Linked DNA regions of Homo sapiens: all the other regions are linked to region 1. Evidence: promoter capture Hi-C in 16 types of primary human blood cells and fetal thymus (Javierre and others, 2016). All regions are on one chromosome and are shown on one strand. The core of a region is centred on a gene start or on the middle of the fragment in contact, and the rest is flanking DNA. Distances in the headings are between cores, read along the strand shown. Region 1 holds the start of DNAJC28 (DnaJ heat shock protein family (Hsp40) member C28). Region 2 overlaps LOC105377136 (a long non-coding RNA gene). Region 3 has its middle 17 kb from the start of EPCIP. Region 4 overlaps PAXBP1 (PAX3 and PAX7 binding protein 1). Region 5 overlaps SYNJ1 (synaptojanin 1). Region 6 overlaps SYNJ1 (synaptojanin 1).

Region 1 (2,885 bases), core at 306-2,805:
TGCAATGGCATGATCTCGGCTCACTGCAACCTCTGCCTCCCGGGTTCAAGCGATTCTCCTGCCTCAGCCTCCCAAGTAGCTGGGATTACAGGTGCACGACACCACTCCTGGCTAATTTTTGTATTTTTAGTAGAGACGGCGTTTCACCGTGTTAGCCAGGATGGTCTCGATCTCCTGACCCTGTGATCTGCCCGCCTCGACCTCCCAAAGTGCTGGGATTACAGGCGTGAGCCACCGCACCCAGCCCCACCAGCTGCATTCTTATAGCTATATTTCACTGATGTGGGCAGAAAAGTGGAAGCTGATGAAGTTTAGTGTTAACATATTGTGGGGCCAGGCACGGTGGCACACGCCTGTAATCCCAGTACTTTAGGAGGCCGAGGTGGGTGGATCACCTGAGGTCAGGAGTTCGAGATCAGCCTGGCTAACATGGCAAAACCCTGTCTCTACTAAAAATACAAAAATTAACTGGAGGTTGCAGTCCCAGCTACTCGGGAGGCTGAGGCAAGAGAATCGCTTGAACCCGGGAGGTGGAGGTTGCAGTGAACCGAGATCGTGCCACTGCACTCCAGCCTGGGCAACAGAGTGAGACTCTGTCTCAAAAAAATATAGATAGATAGAATCTGGATTCTACCCCTCACTAACTAACCGTATATTTTACAAGTGGAAAGTTCTTAGAGATCATCTAATCCAATCTTCTCATTTAATGAGAAAACGTAGGTCCGGAAGGTTAAGCAATTTAACCAAGTCCCATAACAAGGTGTAAGCAAAATGGTTAGGGGTGGGCACAGTAAAAAAGGAGGCTTGCTTAACTGTCTATACCTCCAGCCGATTATAAACTGCACGAGAGTCTGCATCATCTCAAGAAGTCTTCTCATAAGACGACTTATGGACAAGGTACGTACCTGGTCTGATACTGGATTGAATAGAATCAAGTGTCCAAAAGACTTTAAGCTCCACAGCTCGCTAGGAAGGAGCTATCTGCCAGAGGCCAGAAAAACCATGATGAATTGTGAGGCCTCCCAACACGTTTGCTGCTATTGCAATAACATGGTCTCGAAGAGGAGGAAGACTTGTACACTGACAATGGCCAAAAAATACTGGAAGTGGCTTAATTGGAATTGGGATATATAAACGCTAAAACGGAGCTCCTGAGACCCCCTATTTTCTAGGCAATCGGTGCCAACGGTCTGGGAGCCGGCTGCGAAGGTGGTTATCATGGCAAGGGAGGTCGGTCCTGCCCCGCCCCCTCCTCACCTGCGCAGACCTGGGGTAGGGGTTCCGCGGCTCCCGCCCCCCTGCCGCGCCTCTGCGCATGCGTGCGCGGTCCGCCCTTCACTGCGGGTGTCCCTCCCACCGCCTCCAGCTGGTGCCTCCGCCGGGCTAGACCATTTGCCACTTTACACTGAGGGGCTCGGGGGTACGGAAGGCAGAATCGTACCTGATTGGGACAGGTGACCTTACCAGGAAAACGGACAATCTTCCGCCAAACGAACTTTACCCCGGAGGACCCAGGCAGGGCACCTCGGGAGCCTTCGTCCCGACCGGGGACCACCAGCTCCACCTCCGTCCCCGCCCCGAGCGGAGGTGGTCCGGCCGATTGGGATTGTGGGAGATGTAGTTCGCTAGAAGGGGCGATGTGCGCCTGCGCCTCTCGGGAGGGACTTAGGGGGCGTCGAAAATGATGTAAAGACCGAGTTGGCGGCGTGGGGAGTTGTGGCTCGGAGGGCGAGGGTAACTTTCTGGGGGCAGGGGAAGGCAAGGCTGTTTCCCCGGAACGGGACCGGAACAGGTTTATTCGGGGTCACAGAAGGAGTCACCTGCGCAGATACATGAGGCTTAAAACCTGCCCTTTTATTAATTCAAGTACTGTTGAGGGGCTGGCGACAGGCCAGAGGACAAAATCAAAATAGGGATCTTCTGGCTTGGAGTTCAACCACTGACGTGGGGACTGAGCATTTCCCCTCTCTGTACAGGAAGCAAGTTTTTTAACAAGGAAAAAGAAAAAGGATAAAAAGAAAAAGGCAGAGGCTTGGGAGTTTTCAGATCTGGGTTGAAAATCCTGTTTCTTCTGCTTGCACCTTAGGCAAGATACCTGCAAAATGAGAGTTGCAATAAATAGTAAACTATAGTAAATAGTATGCCATTGTGCTAAGTGCTTTATGTATATTCTCATTTACTTTTTTTTTTTTTTTTTTGAGACAGAGTCTCGCTCTGTCGCCCAGGCTGGAGTGTGGTGGCGCGATCTCGGCTCGCTGCAACCTCCACCTCCCGGGTTTAAGCTATTCTCCTGCCTCAGCCTCCCGAGTAGCTGGAATTACAGGCGCGCACCACCATGCCCAGCTAATTTTTTTGTATTTTTAGTGGAGACCAGGTTTCACCATGTTGGCCAGGCTGGTCTCGAACCCCTGAGCTAAGGTGATCTGCCTGCCTCGGCCTTTCAAAGTGCTGGGATTACAGGCATTCATTTAATCTTTACAACAGCCCTCTGAGATAAATGCTGTTATTTTCCCTATTTTACATATAATGAAATAATAATTGTATCAACTTCATTGACTTTTTTAGGGGGAGAATTACACAATGTATGTAAACCACTTGGCACTGTGCCTCGCACATTAAGCAATATTTTTTGTTATGACTGTGTCTCCTAAAAGGAGCCAGAAATAGGTATTAGCCTCCTCAGCTTCTACATCATAAACATTAGAATCATTTATTGCCATCTATGTAGGAACACAGAAAAAGATACAGTATAAACTCTGATTCTGAGGGCTTTAGTTATAAGCAAACAATCAACAAAATAACTCATGTGAAAGAAAATAGGATTTCTGGCCGGGCGCGGTGCTCACGCCTGTAATCCCAGCACTTTGGGAGGCCGAGGCGGGCGG
Region 2 (3,324 bases), core at 515-3,014, 560 kb before region 1:
ATATTAAATATACGTAAGTACATATATATGCATTCAATTATGGAATAAAGAGTGTTTGACCTGGCCGGGCGTGGTGGCTCATGCCTGTAATTTCAGCACTTTGGGAGGCCGAGGCAGGTGGATCACGAGGTCAGGAGTTTGAAACCAGCCCGGCCAACATGGTGAAACCCTGTCTCTACTAAAAATACAAAAAATTAGCCAGGCATGGTGGCTGGCGCCTGTAATTCCAGCTACTCGGGAGGCTGAAGCGGGAGAATCACTTGACCTGGGAGGTGGAGTTTGCGGTGAGCCGAGATCGCACCATTGCACTCTAATCGGGGCGACAAGAGTGAAACTCCATCTAAAAAAAAAAAAGTGTTTGACTTTAATGAGTTATTACTTCCTGGCTTAACCCCTTTTACTTTACAGAAAAGACATAAAAAAGTGAAATTACTTGTCTAAGTTCACAATAATGGCTGACTGTGACAATGCTGGGCCTAGACTTCAGATCTAATCATTCTAAGTGTAGTGGACTCGGAGATAGCTGAGATAGAGGAGGTGGCGGGGGAGAAGTGCTAACTGCTTTATTCTCTCATCTGAAAGCTTTAAGTCTGTTAAAAATAGAACTTGCCTAGTCAAAGTAATACTCTCAGCTATTATTATTCAATTATACCTTGGTGTGAATGAGTGTGACATCCTTTTCTGAGAAATAACCCATTAAAGAACCACAGAGGAGAAAAGAGTAGAGGCTGGAGAAAGTGCAGGACTTGAAAGACAAGGAGTCTAACCATACATTTTATCTACTCAAAATGTAGAGCAGATGCACCAGAAAATATTAACAGTGGCTATCTCTGGGTGTTAGGATAAGAGTTGCTTTTGTTTTGTTTTAGTTTTTTTATATTTTCCAAGTTTTCTGCCTAATACACATATTACTTTTATCATTCATTCTTTGTTATCTAACACAGATTTTTTTTTTTTTTTTTTTTTTTTTTGAGACAGAGTCTTCCTCTTGTCACCCAGGCTGGAGTGCAGTGGCACAATCTCAGCTCACTGCAACCTCCACCTCCCAGGTTCAAGCAATCCTCCTGCTGGGATTACAGATGCCCACCCCCATGCCTGGCTGTTTTTTGTATTTTTAGTAGAGATGGGGTTTCGCCATGTTGCCCAGGCTGGTCTGGAACGCCTGACCTTATGATCTGCCCACCTTGACCTCCCAAAGTGCTGGGATTACAGGTGTGAGCCACCGTGCCCAGGTTTTGCCCCAACCTTTTTGGTACCAGGGACCAGTTTCACGGAAGACAATTTTTCCATGGATGGGGTGCGGGGGGATGGTTTCAGAATAATTCAAGTGCATTACGCTTATTGTGCACTGATTTCTATTATTATTACATTGTGATAGACAATGAAATAATTATACAACTCACCATAATGTAGAATCAGTAGGAACCTGAGCTTGTTTTCCTGCAACTAGGTGGTCCCATCTAGGGGTGAGGGGAGACAGTGACAGGTCATCATGCATTAGATTCTCATAAATAGCAGCAATCTAGATCCCTCGCATGCGCAGTTCACAATAGCGTTCATGCTTCTCTGAGAATCTAATGCTGCCTCTGATCTGACAGGAGGTGGAGCTGAGGCAGTAATGCGAGTGATGGGGAGCAGCTGTAAATACAGATGAAGCTTGGCTCGCTTGCCTGCTGCTCAGCTCCTGCTGTGCGGGCTGGTTCCTAACGAGCAAGAAGAAACCTGGAGGACACTTTGGTTTCATCAAGCAACACTTGCCACCAGGAAGGCGTTGAGTGCCAATTCCACACCCAATACCCCCAGGTAGAGGAAGTCTTGGGCCTTGGGGTTTGCAGTCTAGTTTCCTGGTAGTGTCTGTCATGGGGCTGAAGACCAAGCTTCGTCTTCATGCTAGACTTTGCCCATTTGGATATTTCATATCTTGAGAGGCAAAGAGAGCTTCTGCAATGTTTGAGGCCAAAATTCAAAGCAGAGCCAGGCCCAGGAATCCCATCAAGCAAGGCCTGTTGCCCATTCTGCTACGATTCAGATAACTTTTGAGAATATAAATGGCTCCCTGGGCCACTGTCTTAATCTTTCTATACCTTGGTGAGGCTTCTGTTAATGGTAGAATCTAGATGAAGGATAGTTTGGGCCACTTCGTAAATGTGGGTAGTGATCTTATTCAGATTAGATGATTTTGTTCAGATTAGGATGCCAAAAGTCTGGAACAAGGCAAGACCAGAAAGTCTGGTTAGGCAAGAGGCAAATGGTTTAAAACAGAGACCTTCACAATTTGGCAAGCTTTTAAATTACTTGGAGTATGCAAAATACAGTTGCCTGGACCTTACCCGAGACCCACGGGAAAACAACAACAACAACAACAGGGCAGGTTCCATGGATCTGTGCCGGGCTATTCCCCCAGAGAAATCAGGGAAAATTATAGATGTCCATAATTCCAGACAGAATTATAGGTCCCTGAGCTTGGTTTGCTGAGATAACATGTTGCTTTTCTCTCTCTCTCTCTTTTTCTCTCTCTCAATGTCTCTCCCTTTTCAAAAGTAGATGTCACCTTTCTGATCCAATGCTTGATTGCTAGCTGGGCTGAACCAGAAGCATCACGTCTAGTTAGTCTAGATGTGGATGCAATTCAGTAATCATAAACATTAGAGCTAGAATATTGTAGGTAATTGATGTAACCAAATGAAGAACCAGAGACCCAGAGATGAAAAGTTCCTTGCCCAGATCTGCAAACTCACATCCAGGTTGCTCCCTGCCTACCCTCATCTCTTACAAGCCAGCATCCTTTTACAGCAGACTGTGGGCCCCAAAGCACAGCTGTGGACAAGAGGGCACTGTACATTCACCCCAAGGTCTCAAGGCCACCAGGGGCTTGGTCAGCGTTTGTGGTTGTGGCACTTCGCATTTGCCTCTTTGAGGGCTCCCAAAAACCCACTTCCTGGCCGGGCATGGTGGCTCACGCCTGTAATCCCAGCACTTTGGGAGGCCAAGGCAGGCAGATCACTTGAGGTCAGGAATTCAAGACCAGCCTGGCCAACATGGTGAAACCCCATCTCTACCAAAAATGCAAAAATTAGCCAGGCATGGTGGTGGGTTCCTGTAGTCCCAGCTACTCGAGAGGCTGAGGCAGGAGAATCGCCTGATCCCAGGAGGTAGAGGTTGCAGTGAGCCGAGATCACACCACTGCACTCCAGCCTGAGCGAGAGTGAGACTCTGTCTCAAAAAAAAAAAAAGACAAAACCCACTTCCTTTCACCTTAGCACCCTAATGAGTAACAAGGAAGTTCAGAGATGAGTTCCTTTGCCCCAGCCTCTGCAGCAATGT
Region 3 (3,277 bases), core at 748-3,247, 660 kb before region 1:
TATTTTAAACAGTTTATGCATATTATTCATTTAATCCTCTCAATGACCCTGTGAGAAGGTGCCATTATTCTCCTTATTTTTCATACGTGGAAAGTAAAGAGTAGGGAGAAACTGTCCAAGCTCACACAGCTAGTAAGTCATAGAGCTGAGACTGGAACCCAGATAGCCTGGCCCCAGAGTCCTTCACTATTCTGAATTTATAAAGATATTTTTGATATTTTCTTCCCAAAGTTTTAAAGCTTTCCTTTTCACATTGGAGTTTTAAATCTATCTATAATTAATTTTGAGTATGGCATGATTTAGGTATAACTTTTTATATGAAAAACTAATTTTCCCAGTTCTATTTATTGATATGCAAATATAAAATGTCTCTCTTTCTCTCTCTATATATATATCTGAGGTTGTTTTTGAGTGCTTTATATTCTTGCTTTGGTCTGAAAATTCACAGGTTGAAATTCTAACTCTTGAGACGATGGTATTAGAAAGCAGGGCCTTTGGAAGGCGATTACGTCATAAGGGTAGAGCCTTCAGGAATGGGACTTAGTGCCCTTAGAAGAAGCTGAGAGACCAGCGTTTTCTCTCTTCCATCATGTGAGGACACAGCAAGAAGGCACCATCTATGAACCAGAAAGTGCCCCTCACCAGACATCAAATCTGCTGGCACCTTGATCTTGAACTTCCAGCCTTTAGAACCATGAGGAATAAATGTCTGTTTTTATAAGTCATCCAATAGGTGATGTTTTGTTATAGGGCCTGAGTAGTCTTAGACAGTTACAGATGATTCGCTCTCACTGACTGTTGAATATTATTCTAAGTGTGGATATTACACAATTTATTTACCCATTCTACTATTTTAATTTTATTTTTTTTAATGTTTGAGACAGGATCTTGGTCTGTCACCCAGGCTAGAGTGCAGTGGCACAATCATGGTTCACTGTATCCTCCAACTTCTGGGCTTAAGGGTTCCTACCACCTCAACCTCCTGAGTAGCTGGGACTACAAGAATATGCCAACATGCCCAGCTAATTTTTCATCTTTAAAAAAAAATTATTTTGTAGAGTGGGATCTCACTATGTTGCCCAGGCTAATCTTGAACTCCTGGGCTCAAGCGATCCTTCTGCCTTGGCCTCCTAAAGTGCTGGGATTATAGGCGTGAGCCACTGTACCTAGTCCCATTCTACTATAGATGGGCATGTGGGTTGTATCCAGTTCTTTTACTATTATAAATAGTGAAGCCATGAACATTCTCCTAAATGTGTTTTGGTGAACATGTATATACATTTCTGTTGAGTATACATCCAAGATTGAAATTGCTGGGTCACAGACTACACATATGTTTCTGCTTTAGTAGATGTCGCCTGACAGTTTTCTAAGGTGGGTGGGCCATTTTACACCCCGACCAGTAGTATATGAGGGTCCCCGTTGTTCCTCACTCTTGCCCACACTTGATAGTGTCTTCTTCCCTTTAGTCATTCTTGTGTACACAATTGTGGTCCTAGGTGACATTTTCTTGATAACTATTTGAAGGCTATCTTCTTTGTGTGGTGACATAATTGCTCATAATTCTGCCCATTTTTTTCTTTTGGGTTGTCTGACATTTAATACAAATCGCTTTGTAGGAGTTCGTTATATAATCTGAATGAGTCCTTTGTTGAATACATGTATTTTAAATATATTCTCCCACTCTGTGGCTTAACTTTTCACTCTTAACACTGTCTTTTGATGAACAAAAGTTTTTAATCTTTTTTATTTTTTGAGACAGAGTTTCACTCTTGTTGCCTGGGGTGGAGTGCAATGGAGTGATCTCAGCTCACCACAAACTCTGCCTCCCAGGTTCAAGTGATTCTCCTGCCTCAGCCTCCTGAGTAGCTAGGATTACAGGCGTGCGCCATCATGCTCGGCTAATTTTGTGTTTTTAGTAGAGATGGAGTTTTTCCATGTTGGTCAGGATGGTCTCAAACTCCCGACCTCAGGTGATCCACCTCCCTTGGCCTCCCAAAGTGCTGGGATTACAGGCATGAGCTGCTGCGCCTGGCCGAAAGTTTTTAATATTAATGTGTTTTAATTTACTTATTTTTTCTCTATGATTATCACATTTTTTGTGTTGGTTAAATAGACCTTTGGCTACTTCAGTTTCATGAAAATATTTTCCCATGCTCTATCACAAAAGTTTTACTGTTTTATTAAGTTAAACCATATGAAATTACTAATAGTCAACATAAAAAATAGGAGTTTCATATGGTTTAACCCAATACATTTAATCTATGATCTGTCTGGAATTGATTTTCATCTTTGGTGTGAGTCAGGGGTCAAGATTTTAAACAAATTTAATTGTCTGATTGTCAATTTCTTATGAATTGGATGACTGTATATATGTGGGTCTGTTTCTCAACTCACCATTCTGTTCTATTGTTTTTTTTCATTCTTGTACCGATACCTTACTGTCTTGGCCACTAGAGTTTTATGATAGGTCTTTTATAAATTTTAATAGCTCCGAAGTGTTCTTCAAGATTGCCTTAGCTACTCTTAGCCCACTATGTTTCCATTTAATTTTAGAATCTCTTGTTTTAGAATTATTGCTTTATATATATTTAAGTTGACATGTAATAATTGTACACATTTATGGGGCACATAGTGATGTTTTGGTACATATAAAGTATAGTGATCAGAATAACAAGAATTAGCATATCCATCATTTCAAACATTTATCATTCGTTTGTATGGGGGACATTTGATATCCTCCTTCTAGCTGTTTGAAACCACATATTATTTTTGACTACAGTCATCCTACAATGGTATAGAACACTGGAACTTATTCCTCCTTGACGCTATTTTATATGATGCCCTCTACTCTAGAATTGTTGTTCTAAACAACAGAATGTTAGTTACTCTCTTTTCTAGATAATCAGAATGTTAGTTACCCTCTTTATTGTTATTTTGTCTAAAATTGATGTGGCGATCCTAGATTTTTTTTTTGGTTCCTATTTGTCTGGTATATCTTTATTCATCACTTTATTCCCTTGTCCTCCATATGTTTTGGATTATCTTTTATAAATAGAATGTAACTGATTTTTTTTCTTTTTGAGACAGAGTCTCGCACTTTCCCCCAGGCTGGAGTGCAGTGGGACGATCTTGGCTCACTGCAACCTCCGCCTCCTGGGTTCAAGCGATTCTCCTGCCTCAGCCTCCTGAGTAGCCGGGATTACAGGAGCCCACCACCACCCCCAGCATTTTTTTTAGTATTTTTAGTAGAGACTGGGTTTCACCATGTTGGCCA
Region 4 (3,001 bases), core at 251-2,750, 750 kb before region 1:
CTGAGTCTTTTAGATAGTCTATGGACACGTACCTTAACTGAAGACCAAAACTGTCGTTGAAAAAACAAGTAAGGCCCAGAATTTTTATTTTCTAAGACACTAAGTAAAAAAAAGAGAAACATATCATGATCAGATATTTTATATGTAGGTGCCATATGATTCCTGGACAAAAGATTTTTCTACAAAACAGGTAAACAAAATAAATTTTTAATTTTTCAAATAATTGCATTCTGGAAGATAGTATGTTAAAAAGGCAATGGAAATTTATTCTGAGACACTCAGGGAGAACGTAAGAGTATTGTTTTATTCTGCTTAAGGGAACAATCTCGCCACTAATCTAGTCTCTCTGTAATACACTACATGGGTGAAGTTTGTATTTCAAGCTAGTTTTTCAGAATTTTATAAGCCTTCTCTGAAACACAATGGAGAATATTATCTTTAATGTTCTTCAGAGTTACTTACTTTTTGGGATATAAGGGCATAAATACATCATCATCTAAAGTTCTTCTCATTCTCAATAAAAGTGCCTTTAGGTATACCTAAAAAGTTAAAAGTAGATCACACATTTTAATAAGGACTATGACAAGAAAAATAAGCCATATTCCAAATCATGTAACTGAATATTGAACTGAGTGAACTAGTTTCTCAAATTTTTAATTTTCCTCATTGAAGACCCTAAAGTAATTAATACTTAATAATCTATTAGTTCATTCCTCAACAACTGCCAAGCAATAAAGCTTTAGAAATCTTTCAATTCCTTAGTCTACATAAAGATTTAAGACCAGACACATAATCTAGCTCTCAAAGTGAAAATTCAACAATGACAAAGAGCACCCACCTTCTCTACATTTAAACAGCTTCTATGAATGGCCCCTGAAGAGCATTAACTTTAAGTTTGGCAACTAGTTATAAAACAGTATCTAGTTGTTTTATATGCTGTTTAAATGGTTTGGGTGCCCAATCTTTTGGCTTCCCTGGGCCATACTGGAAGAACTGTCTTGGGCCACACATAAAATACAATGACACTAATGACAGCTGATGAGCTAAAAAAAAAAAAAAAAGAAAAAAAAAAAGGAGGGGGGCGGGGTCTGTGCATAAATTTCATGTATTAAGACAGTTTACAAATTTGTGTTGGGCCGCATTCAAAGCCGTCCTGGGCCACATGTCCATGGGCCACGGGTTGGACAAGCTTAAATTATCAATTGTTAACATTTTGGTTTCTCATTTCCCCCCAGAAAATACAGTCTTTAAAAGGACATTTGATTAGTTGGATTGGGACTGAGGTGTGGTGGTGAGAAATCATAATGAAAGGCTATTTAAAATGATGACATCTTCCTTCCATATTGATTTTTTTAAACTGAAAACTAACATCTCTCTGCGGGACTAGGTATAAAAAAAAGAAAAAAAAAACCTAACATCTCAAATTTTGTGTATTTCAGGCTTTAATGGCCCTGATGGCCCAAGTGGGAGAACCAGATTTCTGATTGGTTTAGGATAACCACTCATTCTCTCAATGCTTGCTCATATTCAACAGAAAGAGGAAAAAAAAAAAAGGCTTCAAAAGATACTAAATTACCTGTGTATTTTTATTTTCTGCATTCACTACTGAAGGATATCCATTGATTAATTTTAGTGTAATTCCCACCATTCTTGAAGTCTGTGTTGTAGAAAAAGGGTCCCACATATTTTCAGCTATCACTATTAAGAAAAAAAGAGGATTGAGACACAGAAGCCAATTGTACCTTTAATTTTTTGTCAAGCAGACCTCTATTAATGCCAATCCTAATTTATTTTTCCTCTTTTTCTACAATATAAGCTTTAGTCTTCTTTGTCCTATTAACTGTGGGAATTTGGAGGGATAGGGATGTGGAGAGAGGATAGATTATTCTTATTTCTGGTACTCAGGGAAAATAAAGATTAGGAAAAAAGAGGATTTCTGTAGAAATGTTGTCTTGGCATCAAGAATTTCAAACTAACATTTCTAGTATTTAAAATAGATTCCTGTATCAATGATTCCTAATCTTTTTTGAGGAACTTATGAAAGCATTTTAATTGCTCCCCACATAAATGCATATCCTCCTCCCTCAAACTCTGTATAATTTTGCTTCAGTCAGTCTTTGAATTTCTAAACCTCACCTATGAAGCAATTACTGCACTCAACTACAGGCCCACCCTAAAGTGGTCTTCAAGTCCCAGGATAAGAACCCCTCTGCCCTCTAGCCATCTCTGGGCCAGGTGGTAACTATTATTTCTCATGTAATTTCTATAAGGAAACATGCTCTGAATTATAAACTCATAAAAATAGATTTGAGAAAGCCAGTGTGTCTGAATGCTCAATTCAGAGAACAGGAGATTTACCTGTTAGTTTAGGAAGAATCACCTTTTCCACAATGGTAGGTAGTAGGGCAACATCTACATCATCTTTTTCTTGCTCTCGTTCTTCACAACCATAAAACAGCAAAGATTCAAACCACAGCATATTCTCAAAGTCACGACATTTTGCCTAAAAGACATTTAAAAGGTTACCCAAATACTAAAATAGTGGCTATTTCTGCTTCCAGCTATGATAAGAGAAACAAGAACTGGATTTAACCTTTGGTTGCAAACAACTAAAAACTGGACGGCTGGAGATATCATGCTACCAGACTTCAAACTATAAGGCCACAGTAACCAAAACAGCATGGTACTGATACAAAAACAGACACATAGACCAATGGAACAGAATAGAGAACTCAGCAATAAGACCGCACACCTACAACCATCTGATCTCCGACAAACCTGACACGAACAAGCAATGGGGAAAAGATTCCCTGTTTAATAAATGGTGTTGGGAGAATTGGCTAGCCATATACAGAAAATTGAAACTGGGCTCCTTCCTTACACCATATACAAAAGTTAAGTCAAGATGGATTAAAGACTTAAATGTAAACCCCAAAACTATAAAAATCCTAGAAGAAAATCTAGGCAATACCATTCAAGACATCGGCATGGGCAAAGATTT
Region 5 (3,089 bases), core at 129-2,628, 790 kb before region 1:
TTGGTTTACAAAAACTTTCACAGAGATTTTTTTCATGTAATTATGACAAAAAGCCTATGAAATTAGTATAAAGTTGAAATTGAGCAATGGTATACTGTGAGCATGGGCTCTGACACAGGTAGAAGCGGCCCTGAATCTTGGCTCCATTACTTATTACCTGGACCAATTTCAGTATGTAGCATAACGAACCTGAGATATCATCTCTTATAAAAAGAGATTAAAGCAAATACCTCATTATACTGTGAGGCTTACCCAGGAGTAATCAGTAAAGCACCTAAGCGCAGTGCTTTATATGTGATAGATTCATAACAAATGACAAATCTCCATTTTATAGACCAGTGCTACTCAAAGTATGGTCCATGAACTGTTACCAGCTCACAATGAGAAAGGACACTTACACCAGAATGGAAATCAACTATATTACTAAGTTCACCCTTTAGTTGAGCTGACTTTTTTTTCTAGTAAGACTTTATCAATGAAGGAAGCCACATGTTGATTTGTATCATAGTGCAAGCTCCTTATCTTATCACGGATCAATAACAAAATGATTTATGGACCAGTACCAATGTTGAAGAACACTTTGAGCTGCAAAATTACAGATAAACTAGTAACTGCAAAGGTTACTCTGCAGCTCACGGTGACATTACGTGGCAAAAAAAAAAAAAAGGCTCAAGCAGACACTTTCTGAATTCAAAACAGATGTCTTTTCCAATACAAACCAAGAAAAATCAGTGTAGTTCTCATGCAGACACTTTTTCCTAAATGCACTGAATCAACAAAAAGGAGAATGTTCTGATTTTCTCTTTTGACAACTGATACTTATCTCTTCAAGTGGTCAAACCAGAGACTGTCTCCGAACTTCCACTCACATGAGTTTGAGCATGTAGCACGCCTTTTTGGGCAACAAACATTATCACAATATTAGCTACATTAATGTTTAAAAGATGTTAGCACATGTGTAGCTTAAATATGGAGTCTACAATAATTCATAGCTAGTCCCTCTCAAATCCTTAGAATTACAAAATAGAAATGAAAAAATGGATGAATTCTACTGAATGATAAACTTACCAAGATTTAACCGCAGAACACCTAAGAGTCCATATGCATCCAGTACTTTGGAGTATGTACCCTTGATTGCCTCTTTTTCTGCAGATGCTACAAAAAAAAGTTTTAGTTTAAGAAAAATGACCTGAAACATTGGATTCTATTTAGCTAAGTATAAATCCAGAGTTTCAATCAAAAGTTTCTAAATCTGATATTCTTAAAATAAATGTACTGCATATTTTCTTAAACTAGTAACATTAGTATTCTTCCCAAAGAGTTAATAAATTATTCCAAGACCATCTATTAATTAATCCATCCTGTCCACTGATCTGAACTCTGTCTTCTTACCCTTTTATTCTTGACAGAATAGTGCTCGACACTTAGAAACTGACAAAACATTTAAATGATAAAAGCTAATGGCAACACTTGACTACACAAATGTAGGGCAAGAATAGGGAAATCTGATTCTGAAAGGACAAAAGTCTGGTCTTTGCCTTGATTTATTTCTTCTGCTATAAAGTTAACGTTACCTTGTTAATGAATATAAACCACAGAATAATTTTCCTAAGACAGGCTATTATGATTATTCTATTGAGAAGAAAAAACAACAAAAAAAAATCAAATCCTGAAACGTTAAAGAAAAAACCTTCCTAGCACTTAGCAATTACACATTAAAAATTTCACAAAGAACCAAAGAAATATTAACAACCAGTATTTCAAAGGACAAATACAAATAATACATCCCACAGTCTACAGTTGATCCTTGAGAAAGATACCTTCCTTTCCTTCCAGGTTTCTTTCCTTCTTTGCTTTTTTCCCTTTTCCATTATCTACACCACACTCAACTCACCTCCTGGCTGACTGGTTCATACCTTATTTACTTCTTATCTCTTACACTTATCCCCTTTCCTTTATCTACAAAATAGGATGTTTGGCAACACTGACGTGTTCCACGTTAGAAAATCACGTAAGTAGATACTTATGACTGTCTCATTTCCTGTCCATCTTTATTGCCAACAAAAGGGCTCTTCTCAGCCTACTGCTTTGCCTAATACTCCTTTGTACTTTGCATTAGAGATCTTCTACTTTGCCTGAAGCTCTTCTCCAGAGTCCTATAGAACATCTCACTTTCCCTGCCTGCTTCACCTCTTTTCAGACCACGTAGGCTTAAGCCTTCTTCCTAGTGATCTGGCTTCTGCCTTCTGATGAGTTTTGCTCTGCTAGTTGCAGCACAGGCTAAGACTAACTGACTCAGTCACTCAATTAGCTGATATTTTCACGATTCTCTAACATGTTCATTATTAAGTGTGGGCCATTATCAAACCACCCAGTATGAAATTAGGGAGTGGAGATTCGCCAACCCGTTAAAGTGATGGGGATTTATATTTCATTCTGTATTCCTTGAGTTCCTATTATTATTACATCTTATGTTTATCCAACAGTTGATCCTAACATTCCATGACAAGCAACCCAAATGTAAAACATTACAATATAAACTTTAATTACATTTTATAAAGCAAAATAGAATTGCCTTCTAAATACTGCCTCGTTAAGAGTACCATATGTACTGTAAACATTAGAGAGACTTGTTATACCTCTCAGGACAGAAGGCATGACTTCCAGGATAAATATTATTCTAGAGGTTTACAAGTTATATGCCATATACATTTAAAATACAATCACTAATATAGTAATATAGAAAGTACTAGATATATCCATTTCAGCAGCAATCATCATTTGGGTTCAAATGCCAGGAGGCAGTAGGAGTTAAGAAGAAAATATAGTTTTATTTTTATTTTTATTTTTTTTTTTTGAGACAGAGGCTGGAGTTCAGTGACACAATCACAGCTCAATGCAGCCTTGACCTCCAGGGCTCAAGTAATCCTCCCACCTCAGCCTCCCAAGGAGCTGGGACTACAGGCATGTGCCACTATGTCCAGCTAATTTTTTTTATTTTTTATTTTTGTAGAGATACAGTTTCTCTACGTTGCCCAGGCTGGTTGGAAACTCTCGGGCTCAAGCAATCCTCCTGTCTGAGCCTCTCG
Region 6 (3,355 bases), core at 762-3,261, 770 kb before region 1:
GGTGCCTGCCACCACGCCCGGCTAATTTTGTATTTTTAGTAGAGATGGGATTTCACCATGTTGGCCAGGCTGGTCTTGAACACCTGACCTCAGGTGATCCGCCCACCTCGGCCTCCCAAAGTGCTGGGATTAACAGTGTAAGCCACCGTGCCTGGCCTCTTTCACATTTTTCATATCTCGTCTTAACAGGTTCATTTTTTCCTCTACTTGTTGAACATATGGAGTATATTTACAATAGCTGTTTTAATGTCCTTGTCTATTACAGCATCTGTTTCTACATTTGACTTTGCTCCTTATGAGGTATATTTTCCTATATTCCTATAAATATTCTTAAACTTCGTTCTGGGATACAGTTATTTGGAAGTTCGGTTACTTGGAAACAGTGGCATCCCTTTGGGTCTTGCTTTTAAGCTTTGTTAGGGAGGGCTGGAGTGGAATTTAGTCTAGGACTACTTTGCCCCTTTACTGAAGCAGTATACCCTTTGCAGTACTCAACCTAATTCTCCATGCAGGACTTCTCCACTCTAGTTGTTAAACATGAACTATTCCCAGCCCTGTGTGAGCTCCAGAAATTTTTCTGCCTACTCCTTTTTGGTGATTCTTTCCCTGCCTCAAATGGTTTCCTTACACACTGGCACCGATCAACACTGAGCTGAAGTCTCAAACGGAGTCCTCTACAGATCTCTGGAGCTCTTTGTGCAACTGTCTCATCTCTAGTACACAGCCCTGAGATTCTGGCTGCCTTGGCCTCCCCATATTCCCTACTCAGGAATCCTGTCAAGCTTTGCTTGAGTGACTCTTCTGCTGCTGTGGCCTGGAAGCTCTCCAGGCAGTAAGCTGGAGCATTCATAAAACCCACCTCATTTGTTTCCCTTCTCTCAGGGGTCAGCATCTTGTGCTGCCTTTTGTTCAAGGTCTGCAAATCATTCCATGTATTTTGTTCATTTTGTTGTTGTTACTTAAGGTAGGAGGGTAAATCTAGTTCCTGTTACTCCACTATGGTCAGAAGCTCCCGTTATAGTCCTGAGTTACGTATATTTTATAGGACAAGTTAGAACATCTGATAGACCTGAGATGATGTAATAAAAAGCCACAGAGTTTTTACTATTCAGTGAGAGTGGAAGTTCTGCCTTTCCTTTTTATTTCCTCATAGCAAAGTTAAGTGGTGAAGAAATGAAAGCACTTAAGAACTAACTACTGGTTTGACCCTAGGTCAATCCTACTACCAACCCAGAATAAAAAAGTTTGGTTGATTTTCTTTTTAAAGAGTTGACATTTAAGTTACTTTCTATTAAATACGTACATTCCTCAGACTACAGGGGCACATAAAAAAAGAAAGAAAATAAATATGCACCTTCCAAAGGTATTTATAAAAAGAAAATGAATTTTTGCAACCCTAACATAAAGTGATATATAACAAGTCTAAATTTCATGATTTCTCTGCTGAAAAAGTCAACTATAAAAAGTCACTTCTTCCCTCAACTTGCAAATTTTTCTTTAAAAGAGACAGGACACTGCAACTTATCTAAAGGGCAATCATGTTGACAGCGTTTGGCAATTAAAAAAAAAAAACAAACTACACACACTGTTTGGCATTACCACCTACTATATTTATCCAAAAGTCTAGAACCTGACATTTAACTTGGCCCAGGAAAGAAACTTTGTTTTTAATGACTTTACTGTAAATTAAACCATACTTTCTCCTCTAATATATTAATATGTTAATAGTTTGTAGGGAAAAACACAAGTGTACAGTTCCCTCATTAGAAAATGCTACCAATTACACTCTTAACCTTAACGCCTTCCCTTATTTTTACACTTCATTCCCCACCCCTGAAAATAATAGCCACACAATATATGGTAATACAATAGCCTCACAACAGCACAAACAATAATTACAGTAAAAAAAAATTAAATGGTAGGACTATGTCATTGGGGCAGTTATCTTTCCAATCCTCAGTTTCCAAATCTCTGAAATGTGGATAAAAGCACAATCTGAACTGAATGAAATAAAGTGTGTCAAATGCCACATCTCCTGAACTGTGTGCTCAGATGCCCCACGGCACTACAGCAAACTCCCAGGGAAGCTGCATATTTTAAACAGAAGGAAACACTGAGATTCTCAACACATGCTGGAAACCAGCCAAACTATTAACCTGAGGTGCTTGAGTTGTCATATTAGATTGCAGTGCATTCCTTGGATGATATATATTAGTGAAACCGGGTTTTTGCTGGTTGCTGTGATAAAAGCAAGTGTCACTTGAAAATCAATGTGGAACAGGAAATGAGGACGGCAGTGTACTCTGTTCCAAGGTTTGAAAAGCTATGCAGGCTGGGAGCAGTGGCTCACGCCCGTAATCCCAGCACTTTGGAAGGCCATGGTGGGCAGATCACCTGAGGTCAGGAGTTCGAGACCAGCCTGGCCAACATGGTGAAACCCCGTCTCTACTAAAAATACAAACATTAGCCAGGTGTGGTAGCGGGTGCCTGCAATCCCAGCTACTTGAGAGGCTGAGGCAGGAGAATTGCTTGAACCCGTAGGCAGAGGTTGCAGTGAGCCGAGACCGTGCCATTGCACTCCAACCTGGGTGACAAGAGTAAAACTCCATCTTAAAAAAAAAAAAAAAGAAAGAAAAAGAAAAGCTATTTAGTGCTCAGTGCTCAACAAGCACACACATCTCATTAGTAAATTGTGGTTACTTATGAAGAAAATAAATGTTCTATTTTTTCTGCATTTTTTTTTTTGAACAGCTACAAAAGCTGTTGGGACACAAATATTTTTTGGACCTAACTATTTAATAAACAGAACTATTAAGTATTGTTTGTGGCCTAGGGGTGTTGTGAAAAACTTAACGAGGCCAGGCACAGTGGCTCACACCTGTAATCCCAGGACTTTGGAAGGCCGAGGTGGGCAGATCACCTGAGGTCAGGAGCTCAAGACCAGCCTGACCAACATGGAGAAACCCCGTCTCTACTAAAAATACAAAATTAGCTGGGCGTGGTGCCACATGCCTGTAATCCCAGCTACTTGGGAGGCTGAGGCAGGAGAACTGCTTGAACCCGGGAGGCAGAGGTTGCAGTGAGCCGAGATCGCACCATTGCACTCCAGCTTGGGCAACAAGAGCGAAACTCTCCCTCTCAAAAACAAAAACAAAAACAAAAACAACTTAATGAGATAATAAGGTCACCATAAAACAATGAAGTTTAAAAACCTCTGGCTTAATGTTGTGACTGGCAGAATAAGCTTCCAGTAAGTGGTAGCCATTATCATTTCACTACGATTAGTCCTTTACGCAGTTTTATAGAAAAGAGAGGATATTTCATATTCTGTAATAAAGATCTCAGAATATCATCC

Evidence for each region. The method cuts DNA at HindIII sites, captures the fragments that hold promoters and counts their contacts. A CHiCAGO score of 5 or more calls a contact.
Region 2: a contact is called between a fragment that was not itself captured here and the fragment with the promoter of DNAJC28 in region 1, in 1 of 17 cell types (naive B cells). The highest score is 6.3, in naive B cells.
Region 3: a contact is called between a fragment that was not itself captured here and the fragment with the promoter of DNAJC28 in region 1, in 2 of 17 cell types (non-activated CD4 T cells and total B cells). The highest score is 5.6, in non-activated CD4 T cells.
Region 4: a contact is called between a fragment that was not itself captured here and the fragment with the promoter of DNAJC28 in region 1, in 5 of 17 cell types (total CD8 T cells, naive CD8 T cells, naive B cells and 2 more). The highest score is 7.1, in total CD8 T cells.
Region 5: a contact is called between a fragment that was not itself captured here and the fragment with the promoter of DNAJC28 in region 1, in 1 of 17 cell types (total CD4 T cells). The highest score is 5.0, in total CD4 T cells.
Region 6: a contact is called between a fragment that was not itself captured here and the fragment with the promoter of DNAJC28 in region 1, in 1 of 17 cell types (naive CD4 T cells). The highest score is 5.5, in naive CD4 T cells.

Annotation. Positions count from the first base shown.
Region 1 is chr21:33,490,161-33,493,045 of GRCh38, forward strand. It overlaps DNAJC28 (DnaJ heat shock protein family (Hsp40) member C28), which reads right to left and starts at 1,556. Exons shown (of 2, transcript NM_001040192.3): 1 at 1,442-1,556. The HindIII fragment of the contact is 6,958 bases long and covers 1-2,885 here.
Region 2 is chr21:32,929,254-32,932,577 of GRCh38, forward strand. LOC105377136 (a long non-coding RNA gene) reads left to right here. Exons shown (of 6, transcript XR_937669.3): 6 at 1,599-2,882. Among named protein-coding and RNA genes, the nearest start is that of LINC01690, 28 kb to the right of the region's middle. The HindIII fragment of the contact is 221 bases long and covers 1,655-1,875 here.
Region 3 is chr21:32,828,593-32,831,869 of GRCh38, forward strand. No RefSeq gene overlaps it. Among named protein-coding and RNA genes, the nearest start is that of EPCIP, 17 kb to the left of the region's middle. The HindIII fragment of the contact is 3,521 bases long and covers 238-3,277 here.
Region 4 is chr21:32,743,216-32,746,216 of GRCh38, forward strand. PAXBP1 (PAX3 and PAX7 binding protein 1) reads right to left here. Exons shown (of 18, transcript NM_016631.4): 12 at 2,359-2,503; 13 at 1,577-1,698; 14 at 463-539; 15 at 33-99. Among named protein-coding and RNA genes, the nearest start is that of PAXBP1-AS1, 17 kb to the left of the region's middle. The HindIII fragment of the contact is 627 bases long and covers 1,188-1,814 here.
Region 5 is chr21:32,700,893-32,703,981 of GRCh38, forward strand. SYNJ1 (synaptojanin 1) reads right to left here. Exons shown (of 33, transcript NM_203446.3): 3 at 1,069-1,155. Among named protein-coding and RNA genes, the nearest start is that of SYNJ1, 26 kb to the right of the region's middle. The HindIII fragment of the contact is 8,759 bases long and covers 1-3,089 here.
Region 6 is chr21:32,717,102-32,720,456 of GRCh38, forward strand. All of the region lies in intron 2 of SYNJ1 (synaptojanin 1), which reads right to left. Among named protein-coding and RNA genes, the nearest start is that of SYNJ1, 9.2 kb to the right of the region's middle. The HindIII fragment of the contact is 2,462 bases long and covers 781-3,242 here.